Linked DNA regions of Homo sapiens: region 2 is linked to region 1. The links are contacts of gene promoters, found by promoter capture Hi-C in blood cells and fetal thymus (Javierre and others, 2016). All regions are on one chromosome and are shown on one strand. Each heading gives the region's core, a stretch centred on a gene start or on the middle of the fragment in contact. The rest is flanking DNA. Distances are from core to core; before and after follow the strand shown. Region 1 holds the start of RCC2 (regulator of chromosome condensation 2). Region 2 holds the start of CAMTA1-DT (CAMTA1 divergent transcript).

Region 1 (6,722 bases), core at 1,111-3,610:
TCAGCACAGTGCCAGACACCTGTGCCTCAAAGTGTCAGAGAAATCTCAGCCACCTTCTTTCCCTTCCCCTCTCCCGGTTTTGCACCAAACCATCCTGTCCCTGGAGAATTTGCTCAATTAGAAGCGAGGTGAAATTCCAAGCACAGTTTGAAGGAGGAAGTGTCATTTTCAGCTTGCCTGTAGGTGCACCTCACTATGTAACATTTGTTACATAAGTGGCAGCATGACACGCCTAACTGATGAATGTCTGTTGCACACCCAATTCCAGCCGGGAGAGTCACGCAGGCTTTCCCTGGGAGAATAGTGGTGTGGAATTGAGGCATGGAGTTGCAAAAATTACTTTTGTCTTCTGACAAGTAGGGCCAGTTCCAGGGTGTTATACCCAAAGTGCTTTTCTACTGCAGCATAACCTCAAGAAAAACCAGTTTCAGGAGCACCACACCTAGGATCAGATGATGCAATATGATATTAGCGTCTCATTGCATCAGTGTGTCTGAGGCATGAGTCTTTTAAGCTGGCAAAAAGCATTATAAAGGGGCAGGAGAAAAAAGGAAAAGACTTGCAGACTGAAATCTAAAGGTACTGTCAGTGGTGTTCCTAATTGGCCACACAGGGTGTTTAGAGGATAAACACCCAGCCACCCGCCTCGGCTGACAAGCATCAGCATGCCATTTCCTGAAGGGGACTTGATGGCATATTTAGGCGAAATTCTTTTCTGGTTGGTTCTACTTATGCTTTATATCAAAGCGTCAAAGTTTAACCTCTAAAAAATCTTTTTAAATGCAGGTCTATTAAGAATAGGCTTTCAAAGGGTGCTTCTATTCCATCTTGACTTTTCTGAAAATCTCTGAAACGTACCAGTTGATTTCTCATTTCCAAAGTTCTTTTACATAAGCACTCTCAGCTCTCTTGACACACAGACTTTTGACTTTGATCAAATACCTTAGATTTGGGCCTCTTGGTTTCTCTGTCTTCCTTTACAGGACACTTGATGCTTCCCAGTCCTGTTTCTTGCACTAACAATGAATGAATGAATCACAAAAATCCTAGAACTTTATGCGTTTTCAAGAAGTTGCCTGAAGAAGGAACTTCCTTGTGCGGTACGCCTCAGGAAAAAAGAAGCAGGAGAAAAGCTTTGAGAGGAGAGCAAGTGACGGTGAGATCGTAATGGAAGTGGGGTGGAGAGGTGGAGGGTGGAGACCGGTAGGAAGCAAGCAAGGCTTTTTTCACCCGTCCCAGGACACGCGAACGAGATCAAGCCTCACTGCGGTTCACTAGGGTCTATGCAGGCCCTCGCACCCCTGCCTACCTCCTCAGAACCCAGCCTCTTGGCTCTTCTCACCCCAGCCCCACCAGACAGCTTCCCTCCCAGGAGGTGTCTCTCAAGATCTCGAAATGTGGAGCGTCCCGTTCACTCCACCTGGCCTGGAATACTTTTCCTGCCCCCTTTCATCGGGTCTTATTCATCCTTTAAGTTGTTCAGCATAACTTTCCACCTGAATGCCTTCCCTGGCCCTGGACTAGGATAAATCCCCTCGCCATAATGTTCCTACACAGGCATCACTTTGTAAAGCTTACCACTGTTGTAATTACTTGTTTACTGATCTGTCTTTCCGTTAGGCTGTGCGTTCCACTGGGGTGGAAACCTTGTTCACTGGCTCTGCAGCCCCGGGCACTGTGGGTCTTGCATGTACCGGGGGCTCAGTAAATATTTGGCAAAAAATGAAAAAGTTCCCCTCAAAGCCAGCTTCCAGTGCCTCCACGGCCCTCAAATTAATTATGAATTAATTCACTAATACAGCAAACCTTTATGTGATTCTTCCGTGTCACAGCACCTTGTTACATACTGAGGACACATCCACAGGCAAATAAAACTCAGCTTCTCTCTGCACAGGAAAAAATTATTCAAATTGTATTCATCTTTCATTCCAATCACTCAATTAGGGCACGTCCCTTGTTGGCTGCTGCGTGAGCGAAGTAACTATTTTCCAGCGAGTGTCCTCATGTGACCTGTCTAGACGTGCCCAGGAAAAACAATCCAACATCCTCCTAAGCCGCAAAGAAGTCCCTGACGCGCAGGCCGCACTGCGTGGAAGGCCCAAAGCGCGCTCGCGGGCCCGCGAAAGGCGCAGGAGCAGCGGAGCCGAGGCGGGCGGCGAGGCGCGCGGCGCGCGGCGCAGGCTCGGGTGGGCAGGGCAGGGCCAGGCCGGGCGGGGCGGGGGCGCCGGCAACGGGTCCGCCGGCCGGCAGGGGGCGCGCGCGCCCCGCGCCCCGCGCCTCCCGCCCCGCCGCGCGCTCGCTTGCCGCGCGGCCGCACATGTGTTTCTGTTTTGTGTTGTAGCATTTGTTCTGGAAGCTCGTATTTACATTTTAAGTGTATCTGGTGAGTGGGCTGGAGCCCTCGTCTGGGCCGGAAAAAAAAAAGCCCTCCGATCCGTCTTTTAGTTGCTTCTCTTCCTTTTTTCTCTCCGGTTTCTCATCACTCCAACCAGGTAGGGTCTGAAAATCGACAGTGATCAGTTTGTGGGGTCTGGGAAAGTTTTTTTTTTTTTCCTTTTTTTAAAGAGAAAAGGTTAAAAAAAAACCTGGGGGAGGGGGGCTGGGTGATTGAAGGAATAAAAAGAGGAAGGAAGGCGGATCCACGTGGTTTAATCGGAGACAGACAGAGATCCCATTGTTCAAAATCAATTAAAAAAAAAAAAAAAAGCAGACAGGGGAGAGCGCAGGGACGCCGGGGAGCTGGCGGCGGCCCTGGACACTTTGCAGTCGAATCGGAGACCGGCCGGGCCGCACGGCCGGCAAGGGGGCTGGGAGAGAGTTGGGCACCATTAAAGTTTTTATTTTTCGTGTCTGTGCGAGCAGGTGTTTGGGGCTGGGGTCCAGCTTTCTTCGGGCTCTTCCCCCGTCGCCGGGGGCAGTCCGCCGTAGGGATTCGGCTAACTAGAGCCCGAGGTCGGCACCCCTGAGCTGGGGCCGAACGGGGGTCCAGGGCTGATGCGGGGTGGGGGAGAGCGTTGCATTAAATGCCATGAGTGGGTTTGGGGGGAGACTGCGGAGACAAAAGCAGCAGGTGGGGTAGCCGGGGAGCAGGGGCTCCCTTACCACCCAGGTGCCAAGGGGGAATCCTGGAAGTGTCCCGAAGCCTTCTTTAATGAAAATCTAGGGGACTGGAGGCTGGTTTTACTTTCCCTTTACTTTTGGGGGGCGAGGTTGCAACTGTGATGCTTTGTGGGCAAACCTAACTTACGGATAGGCCGGGGGTCTCAATTCTCCCTCCAGGGGATTGCCTCTGGGGCTCCCGGCTGCCCTGCGGGATTCCCCGAAGGAGCCGCGCCGGGGCCAGGGAGGGGCGCGATTTCCTCTCCCAACTCGCCCCCTCTCCGCCCACCCTGCGGCCGCCACTTTGGGGAGGGCAGAGGAGGAAGTGGAGGCCGGGTGGCTCGTCTCCGCTCCCCTCCCCCCGCGCAGTTTATAACCCGTCCATTGTGCGCCGCTGCCCCGTGTCTCCCTCCAGCCGCGACCATGCCCAGGAAGAAGGCGGCGGCGGCGGCCTGGGAGGAGCCGAGCTCGGGCAACGGCACTGCCCGCGCCGGGCCCAGGAAACGCGGCGGCCCGGCGGGCAGGAAGCGCGAGCGGCCCGAGCGCTGCAGTAGCAGCAGCGGCGGCGGCAGCAGCGGCGACGAGGACGGCCTGGAGCTCGACGGGGCCCCCGGCGGGGGCAAGCGCGCGGCGCGGCCGGCGACAGCAGGCAAGGCGGGCGGCGCGGCCGTGGTCATCACCGAACCCGAGCACACCAAGGAGCGCGTCGTGAGTGAGGGTCAGGGTAGACGGGTGGGCGCAGGGCCGGGGCCGGCGGGCTCAGCGACGCGGCACGGCGCGCGTTCCAGCCGGGGGCCGCCTCGCGTCACGCTCCCTCCCGGCGGCCGGGCCGGCGCAGGCCGCGGGCTGAATCATTGCCTCCGCCTCCGCGCAACAAAAGGGCTCGGTACGGGGCGCGCGGCCCGCGGCCTACCCGACCCCGGGCACCGCGCGGGCGGTTGGCGGTTGGGGCGCGCGCCCGGGCCCGCGGCGGGGGAGGGGCGGCCGAAGCCCGCACGAGGGGGTCATGGCCCCGCCCCCACAGCTCCCTCTGCGCCCCTCCCCCCCCGCCCCGGGAAAGGGGACCTCGGTAAGTTCGCCCGGCCTGGAAGAGGGGGCGGCCAGCGGGCCCCACACGTCCGTGGCCGCCGCTGCGCCCGGGCGCCGCGGGGAGGGGGCGGCCGGCGCTCTGCGGGGAGCGGCCGTTTGCGCCGGGGCTTTGAGGTTCCCGCCGCCTCGGCTCCGGCGCCCGGGGGGGGCGGGGCCTGACGGCCGCCGCGCATGCTCCGCAGAGCCCTCCCCCGAGGTCGGGGAAGCCCCCCGGCTGAGCGGTGCTCGGGCTTTGTTTGCCGCCGGTGGTCCGAAGCTGCAGGATGCTCGCGAGGGCTCTGTTGTAGCCCCCCCAAGTGAAGAAGCATCTCCTAGGGTCCTGGGCGGGCTTCTGTTTTCTCAAATCTTAATTAAGGTCGTGGCTGACTCAAGTTAACGTTCCCGAAAAAGCCTGCAGAGCCGGAGATCTGAACCCGGCATCTGCCGCCACAGCATCTCCCCACCCCCACAGAACTTTCTTTAAGTTTGGTGTGGTGTGGGATATGTTTTTCAGAAGAGGGTCTAAGTTTTCACCAGATTCTCAGATAACCCCCAGAGAGCAAGAACTTCCACCTGGGGTGTAGAGCCTGACACCCGGAGAGGTTTTTTTCCTTCCATAAGTGCCCATCTCCTAAGGGTGTTTAAGGGTTAACAGCAGAGTGCTTTCCTCCAGAGAAGCGCAGGCAGTGTCTAATAACACATTTTCTACGTCCGTTTTATAGATAGGGAAACTGGGGCACAGAATTCGAGGGCCTTGTCCAAAGTCATGGATGGAACTGGATCTCCAAATGCTGTAACTCCTGATGTCCCTGCAAATTGCACATGGGAATATGCTTTGTAAAAGTGCCTTCTGGGTGAAAGGGTTAACATGTTAGGCAGTGGAGGAGAGCCCGTCAAAAGCTGTCAAAAGGTCTTGCCCGGGGTCTTGGATCAGGCTAGACTAGACAATGGCCAAAGTATTGAGAAACTGGAACACAGGAACTGTTTTCCTTTGACGTCTAGTCTGCTGTGCCAGACTCCAGACATTTGCCCTCCGAACACAGTATGTTAGGATGAAACTAAAAAGAAAGGCCAGGTGAGCTTCCGCGTCTCCTGTATCCTATTTTGAGTGAGTTTCCAAAAGCAAGATTGTGTTTAGACATCCAAGACTGCAGTTATCAGCTGTACAGCTCCAGACTGTTGGAACGCTGAATTTTGCCATCAGAGCAAAAGATCCTTACCCCATGCTGAGATTGACCCAAGGAGGTAGAGACAGGGAGTGTGTGAGGGACACTGGCTCTCCCTGGCCCACCTCTGTCTCCAGCTGTGCTGCTTGAAGCTGCTTTGTCAATGGAAATGGCACATTTGTTAGTCTTTTTTTTTTGAGGCAGAGTCTCCCTCTATGGCCAGGCTGGAGTGCAGTGGCACGATCTCAGCTCACTGCAACCTCCGCCTCTCAGGTTCAAGTGATTTTTGTGTGCTGATCAGCCTCTCGAGCAGCTGGGATTACAAGTGTGTTCCACCACACCCGAATAATTTTTGTACTTTTTGTAGAGGCTGGGTTTTACCATGTTGGCCAGGCTGGTCTCAAACTGCTGGCCTCAAGTGATCTGCCTGCCTCAGCCTCCTTCCAAAGTGCTGGGATGACAGGCGCGAGCCCTGTGTTGGGTTGCATGTTTGTAAGTCTTAATGTGAGTAAACAGCAGTCCATTGCAGCTTTTAAGTTCCTGTTTATACACATAAATACGTTATTATTTTACATATGTGTATAAGCAGGACTCTAAAAGCTACATCTTCCTTTCTCTATCCACTTAAAACCAACAGGGGCCCATGATGCCCATCCTTTGGGCTGTCGGTGCTGTTCTAGAATCAGAGCACCTGGGAGGCTGAGGGTTCAGCATATGATGCCCCTTTATGCCTCATGGAAAGTGCACACCCTACATTTAAGTTTTGCTTTTTTTTTTTTTTTTTTGAGCTGGAGTTTAGCTGTTGTTGCCCAGGTTGGAGTGCAATGTTGCGATCTCAGCTCACTGCAATCTCCGCCTCCCGGGTTCAAGCAATTCTTCTGCCTCAGCCTCCCGAGTAGCTGGGATTATAGACGCCCACCACCACACCTGGCTAATTTTTTGTATTTTTAGTAGAGACGGGGTTTCACCACGTTGGCCAGGCTGGTCTCGAACTCCTGATCTCAGGTGGTCCACCCACCTTGGCCTCCCAAAGTGCCCCACGTTTAAGTTTTGTTAGCATCTACTGAGTTTGGTCCATGTTCGGGGCTGGGTCCATGCAGCCCCATTGCCTTTCCATAGGCCTAGGGCAGCCCTCTGCCCCTTGTCCTGGGTTGGCCTCCTGCCCAGTCTCCCTGGCCCCAGGTTTCTGGTCTCTGTTTCTCTGTTGAGCAGTCCTAGGGACCCTGTGTGCTGCCACAGGCAGACAGCAGTCCTTGTTGCAGAAAGAACCTTTTTTACTGAGCATTTTGCATGCCTTGCCCCGCTCAGGGTTGCTAGGAGGAGGTCTGTGTGAAAGCAGCCGCCCAGGAAATGTCCAAAACCATATTGCCTTCAGTGACCCCAAAGCTG
Region 2 (6,147 bases), core at 509-3,008, about 11 Mb after region 1:
AATGGCGAAAGGAGCACGGTGAACGTCCAGTTGTCTCCATAAGAAAAGGAGGGCAACTCAAAGGGTATTTAGGAAATGAGCTCGCCCTAACCCAGCAAAGTGTAAGAGTATGCATGATCTGGAAGAAGTGTCTGCTTTCCTATTTAGAAATGACTTCAGAGCTGCACAAGCCCCCACTATCCACTGGGTGAGGAAAGAAGAACATGGGCAGCCTGAGTCCCCTTGTCCTGGCAAAAAGGGTCAACGGAGAGTGTGCAGAGGCCCCAAAAGAATCCAAAGAAGATGAGCAGATCAGACGGACCCCTGTGCCAAGGAAGGATCGGGGTCACGGAAGGTAAAGGGCAAGGGAGTGTGGAGATCCTCACTTGCCATAGAAACGGAGACCCCACCCTCCTGGCTGTGAGGGTGCAAGGGCAAGAGTAGGATGTGAACGACTGCGAGGGGCGGGGATGCTGCGCAGGCCCCCTTCCCTTCCCGGGAAGCGAAGGGGGAGGGGTCACACGAGGCCCTTCGGCCGAGGGACGCTCGGCAGGACGGGGTCCCCCTGGCGGGGAGAAGCTCGGGGACCCCCCGCCCGCTCAGGGAGGTGTCCACGGGGCTGAAGAGGGTGCCGGAGAGAGTACATCTGGCCCTGCCCGCCGGAGAGCAGGGGGCCGGCGAGGGCTGAGCGCCGGCCGCTGCCGCCCGACGGGGACCGGCCCGGAGCAGTGGGGCGCGGGGCCAGGAGGACCCGAGGCGGATAAACTTTCCGCCCCGCGGCCCCCACCGTGGACCCAGCGCCGGGGGTGCGGGGGCCGCGCAGCGGGCTCGGGAGCGGCGGGGATGCCCGGTCCGGGTGGGGGAGGCGCCGGCCCTCCGCCGGCTCCTCCTCCTCGCTGGGCCCGGTCCCCGCCCCGCGAGCCCCCCGCCCCCTCCGGCCCCAGCCCGCCCCCGGGGGTGGGGTGTGGGGCGCCGCGCTCCGCCGGCCCCGCGAGTCACCTCAGGACTCGGCCGCGCTCCGCCCCCCCACCCCGCCGGCCCCCTCCCCGGCCGGGTCGCCCGCCCGCCCGCCCGCCGCGCCCCCGCGCTCCCGCCCGGCGCCGCCGATGCCCGGGATGTCCGGCGGGGCCGGGTCCCGCCGCCCGCCGCGCCGCCCCCCAGCCCCTCGCGCTCCGGCTCTTACCTTCCGGCTTGTTTTCGGCAGCCATTTCCCCTCCGCGCGCCACATCCTCCTCCTCCTCGCGACCGGGACCCCGAGCGCGCGCCTCGTACCGCCGCCGCCGCCGGCCCAGCCACCCCGCCGCCGCCGCGCACCCGCCCTGGCCCCGCCCCGCGGCCCACGCACAGCTCCCGTTGGGCCGTGCGGCTGCCACTCATCGCTCCCGCCGCCAATCGCCCCGCACCAGGGGTCTCACTACTCTCCGGGAGGAGCGTCCTATCCATCCGGCCCATTGGCTGGTCACCACCCAACGGACTGAAAGGATTGGTCAAGAATCAACGCCCCCTCCCCACCCACTCCCAGGAAAGCCCGCCTTCCGGACCTAAACAAAGCTTCCTAGTGGCCAGAACCCGAAAGAACTGTCCAATCAGGACGGGCCCGACACGGAATATTTCCTCGAGGCCGAGACGTGGCGTTTTGATTGGGCGTCACTACAGTGTTTCCCAGGCCGTCCAGACCAATCAAAGGGGGTTCCCGGAACTCGGGAGCGGCGAAGGGAAGCCCCGCCCCCGAGCGTGACCGTCATGAGGAAGGCGCTCCCTCATTGGCACGCTGGGGCTTTTCCCGCGTGCTCCCGGGGCTGAAGGACGTTCCCGGGGAAGCCGCTGCTGGCGCGTGGGGTCCCGGTGGCTGTGGGGGACGCGCCGGGATCTCCGGGATCCCGCAGCCCGCCGCCGCTGCCGGTGGGGAGCCGGACGCGGGGGGCCTCGGGGCTGAGGTCCGCAGGGGTGCCGCGCCCTGGAGTCCGACTGCCTAGGAGTCCGGGCGTCGCTGCCGGCCGTGGGGGAGGGGCGAGCCTCCCGCCAGGCCCCGCCCCCTCGGCGCCGCGTCCCCACGGCCCCGGCGCCGCCCGCCTGCGCCCGCCTCCTGTGCCCGCCCCCGGTGAGCTCCGTTGTCCCCTTTTCTGGCGGCTTAAAATACCGAAACTTTATTTTGGTCACGTTGCCCATGTGACCCGCGGAGCGGATGACTCATGGTTGCCTGTCCCAGGATGAGGCCGCCGGCCGAAAGCAGAGAAGCGCCAGCCCCGGCCGCCCGGGTGGAGCGCTGGGCAGCCGAGTTTCCCACCCTCCTCAATCCGGAGAGTCCGCGCGGGGCTTTTCCTAATAAATAGCCAGGCACCCGCTGCCCTCGCGCTGCGTACGGGAGCACGTGCCCCCCGGGAGGTGGGCGCCCGCCAGGTGCCCCGGGAACGAGCCTAGGAACCGGGTCCGCCGAGTGCGGCTCTCGGGGCGGCTAGGCGTGCGGGTGGCTGGGCAGCGCTCCCAGGGACCGGCCTCTCTCCGGAGAAAGTAAGGAATTCTGCTCCTGGGCAGGTAATACCGGAAACAAAAGGAGAGGCTGCAATCGCAAATTGTTTAAAAAGAAGAAAAAGGAAAGAAAAGTTGAATGTAAGAGCTCCAGCCCCTCAATGTGATCTTGTACGGTTTGCAGTAAGAACATTTCATTCTTCCGCATTTTATTTTTCCTTTTGCTACTGTTGGTGACAACTAGCAAAATAAGTGAAAAATCCTCGTTCAAGTGTTCTGGCATTAAGATTGACTGTCACACTGAATTCTGTGCCAATCCTAACAACATGTGTTCTTTTTCTGGTCTTCACAAGTAAGAATGTCTTAGGTTTTCCAGAAATAAAGATGTCCCAAAAGAATGTTTTGTGTTACACACTCATTCTTCAAGAAACTTTAATTTTATGAGCCTCAAAAATTGCAAAATTTTAACAACGGCGGGACAATATTTTATCGATTAGCATTCTTAATAGCACCTATGTTGACGATTTGTGTGGAGAAACGGATTCTTAAAAGAAGTGCTGGTGGCATTGTAAATTAGTATATTCCTTTCGAAAAGCAATTTTACAGTATGTATTAAAAGCCATAAAAATGTCTGCATCTTTTGACCCAGTGATCTTACTTCTGGGAATCTGTTCTAAGGAAATAACACTAAATGCCAGAAAAGCTGTATGTGTGAAGGTATTCTTCACAGGATCACTGTACTTAACTACAACAAAAAATTGGGAGCATCCTACATGTGCTAATATTGGGTATTTAGTAAATTGTGTTACATCTACACAGTGGAACATTATGGTAGTTGTAGACATCAGAAACAGAAAATCACCCATTGCTAGATAGAGGGGGCAATACCCAAAATTATGGTGTTCATTTATGAGGTGAGATGATAGGCTAAAAAAACTGCATTTTAAAAAAGACCGATACAGGCCGGGTGCAGTGGTTCACGCCTGTCAATCCTAGCACTTTGGGAGGCCAAGGTGGGCAGATCACTTGAAGCCAGGAGTTCGAGACCAGCCTGGCCAGCATGACAAAACCCCGTCTCCACTAAAAATATAAAAATTAGGTGGGCAAGGTGGCAGGCGCCTGAGGTCTCAGCTACTTGGAAGGCTGAGGCAAGAGAATTGCTTGAACCCAGCGGGCAGAGGTTGCAGTGAGCCAATATCGCACCACTGCACTCCAGCTTGGGTGACAAGAGCAAGACTCCACCTCAAAAAAAAAAAAAATAGACTGATAACATACACCAAATAAATGACGTATGGGGGATTATAAGTGAGTTTTTTTTAATTGCCTATTTTCTATAATATAGCTGTTTTTGTTGTTGTTTTTTGGTTTTTTTTTTGTTTTGTTTTTTTGAGATGGAGTTTCACTCTTGTTGTCCAGGCTGGAGTTCAATGGCGCAATCTCGGCTCACCGCAACCTCTGCCTCCCGGGTTCAAGCGATTCTCCTGCCTCAACCTCCAGAGTAGCTGGGATTACAGGCATGCGCCACCATGCTCAGCTAATTTTGTATTTTTAATAGAGACAGGGTTTCTCCATGTTGGTCAGGGTGGTCTCAAACTCCCAACCTCCAGTGATGCGCCTGCCTCAGCCTCCCAAAGTGCTGGGATTACAGGCATGAGCCACCACGCCTGGCCTCTATGTTACTTTTATCATTAAAACACTCATTTAAATTGAAAGAAAGGTGAATAAAGTTGAGTGTCTTCCTTCAAGAGACTCCCAACTTGGCCAGGTTCACAAACATAAGCAGCAGCAGGACAGGTGCGATGGGAACACCGGAGAAGGTCACAAACATCACCTGGGCCTCAACACCATCACCATTGAAATTACCTTAGCCTCAGGCCACAACAGTGGTTCTCAAAACAGTGGTTCTCTAGGGACCTTGGTCGAGCAGAGGGAGCCCCAAGACTCAAGGGACCCAAAAGTCAAAACTTTTTTAGACAGGGTCCTGCTCTGTCGCCCAGGCTGGAGTGCAGTAGTGCCATCAAAGCTCACTGTAGCCTCGAACTCCTGGGCTGCAGTAATCCTCCCACCTCAGCCTCCCCGGTAGCTAGAACCACAAGCATGCACCACCATGCCCAGCTAATTTTTAAGTTTTGTAGAGACAGGGTCTCACCTTGTTGCCCAGGCTGGTCTCAAACTCCTGAGCTCGAGTGATCCTCCCACCTCAGCCTCTTGAAGTGCACGGATTACAGGCATAAGCCACCACACCTGACTTCAGAACTATTTTTATAGCAATGATATGTCAATTTCTCCCAACACTGCACTCTGTGTGCAGTGTTTTCCAGAGGCTGCAAGATACGTGATCTCACAACAGGCTGAATGCAGAAGATTCAGAAGCAGAGAAGAATCCAGCAGTCTTCTACTGTCAGATATTAAAGTGATTTGCAAAACTAAAACAATCTCACACTTACCACTAATTTTATTTTAGAAAATGTAGGTATTTCTCATAAAAATAGGATTTATGTTGACATGTAATGGGTTTATTCTCTTTTTTGTTGTTCTTTTGAGATAGGGTCTCACTCTGTTGCCCAGGCTGGAGTGCCGTGCAATCAAGGCTCACTGCAGCTTTAACCTCCTGGGCTCAAGCAATTAGCCTCTTGAGTAGCTAGGAATACAGGTGGGCGCCACCATGCCCACCTGTATTTTTTGTAGAGATGAGGTTTTGCCACGTTGTCCGTGATGGTCTCCAACGGAGTCTTACTCTGTTGCCCAGGCTGGAGTGCAGTGGCACGATCTCGGCTCACTGAAACCTCTGCCTCCCGGGTTCAAGCGATTCTCCTGCCTCACCTCTTGAGTATCTGGGATTACAGGCACCCGCCACCATACCTGGCTAATTTTTGTATTTTTAGTAGAGACGGGGTTTCACCATGTTGGTCAGGCTGGTCTCAAACTCCTGACCTCGTTATCCGCTGGCGTCAGCCTCCCAAAGTGCTGGGATTACAGGCGTGAGCCACCGCGCCCAGCTTGAATCCTTAAATTTTAAGTGTGGAAAAAGATCTTGAGACTCAAGAGTTTGGGAACCACTGGGCTAGAGAATGAGATCTTTTTGGGGCTGGCTGGTTGGTGTTTCTGTTTGCTTGGGAGGGTAACCAAGAGATGGGCATTTCAAGTAAAGGAAGCAGCTTGCATTACTAAATGAGCCCATTTAGAAAAGAGAGTTGGAAGATAACGCTCGATGTACCAATCTCGGAATCCTTGCCCATTTTGGCCCTAATGTCCTTCAAGGAAAGAATTTTACTGTCCAGAAACAGAACATATAAGGGAAATAGTGGGAATATTAAATTGTTACTTTTTGACCCCAAAGAGGTGCAAAAGAGGCTTCTTCCTGGTCAGCTTTCCAAAGTAAAGTGGCTGTTTATATTACTGGTGGTGATAAAAATAAAAGTGCTTGGACTTGCTTCCTTAAATTGGAAGTTACCGAAGCTTCCATATTACTGGATTGGGAGAGGAAAGCATGGAGTAAACCCATTTCAGAAGCTTAAACACTTAGAAGCTCAGGCCGGGCACAGTGGCTCACACGTGTAATCCCAGCACTTTGGGAAGCCAAGGCGGGTGGATCACGAGGTTAGGAGTTCAAGACCAGCCTGGCCAAGATGGTGAAACCCCATCTCTAACTAAAAATAAAAATTTAGCTGGGCATGGTGGCACGCGCCTGTAATCCCA

Evidence for each region. The method cuts DNA at HindIII sites, captures the fragments that hold promoters and counts their contacts. A CHiCAGO score of 5 or more calls a contact.
Region 2: a contact is called between the fragment with the promoter of CAMTA1-DT here and the fragment with the promoter of RCC2 in region 1, in 1 of 17 cell types (total CD8 T cells). The highest score is 10.1, in total CD8 T cells.

The regions. Positions count from the first base shown.
Region 1 is chr1:17,435,315-17,442,036 of GRCh38, reverse strand. It overlaps RCC2 (regulator of chromosome condensation 2), which reads left to right and starts at 2,360. Exons shown (of 13, transcript NM_018715.4): 1 at 2,360-2,492; 2 at 3,515-3,807. The coding sequence starts at 3,523. LOC124903862 (a long non-coding RNA gene) reads left to right here and starts at 494. Exons shown (of 2, transcript XR_007065508.1): 1 at 494-579; 2 at 984-1,901. RefSeq lists silencers at 2,121-2,260, 3,580-3,679. The HindIII fragment of the contact is 15,202 bases long and covers 1,576-6,722 here.
Region 2 is chr1:6,780,591-6,786,737 of GRCh38, reverse strand. CAMTA1-DT (CAMTA1 divergent transcript) reads left to right here and starts at 1,758. Exons shown (of 3, transcript NR_149049.1): 1 at 1,758-2,080; 2 at 2,515-2,589; 3 at 2,693-2,846. It overlaps CAMTA1 (calmodulin binding transcription activator 1), which reads right to left and starts at 1,284. Exons shown (of 23, transcript NM_015215.4): 1 at 1,163-1,284. The coding sequence starts at 1,207. RefSeq lists silencers at 532-711, 722-991, 1,202-1,361, 1,702-2,111, 2,242-2,301 and 1 more and enhancers at 1,567-2,241, 2,242-2,918. The HindIII fragment of the contact is 4,377 bases long and covers 1,533-5,909 here.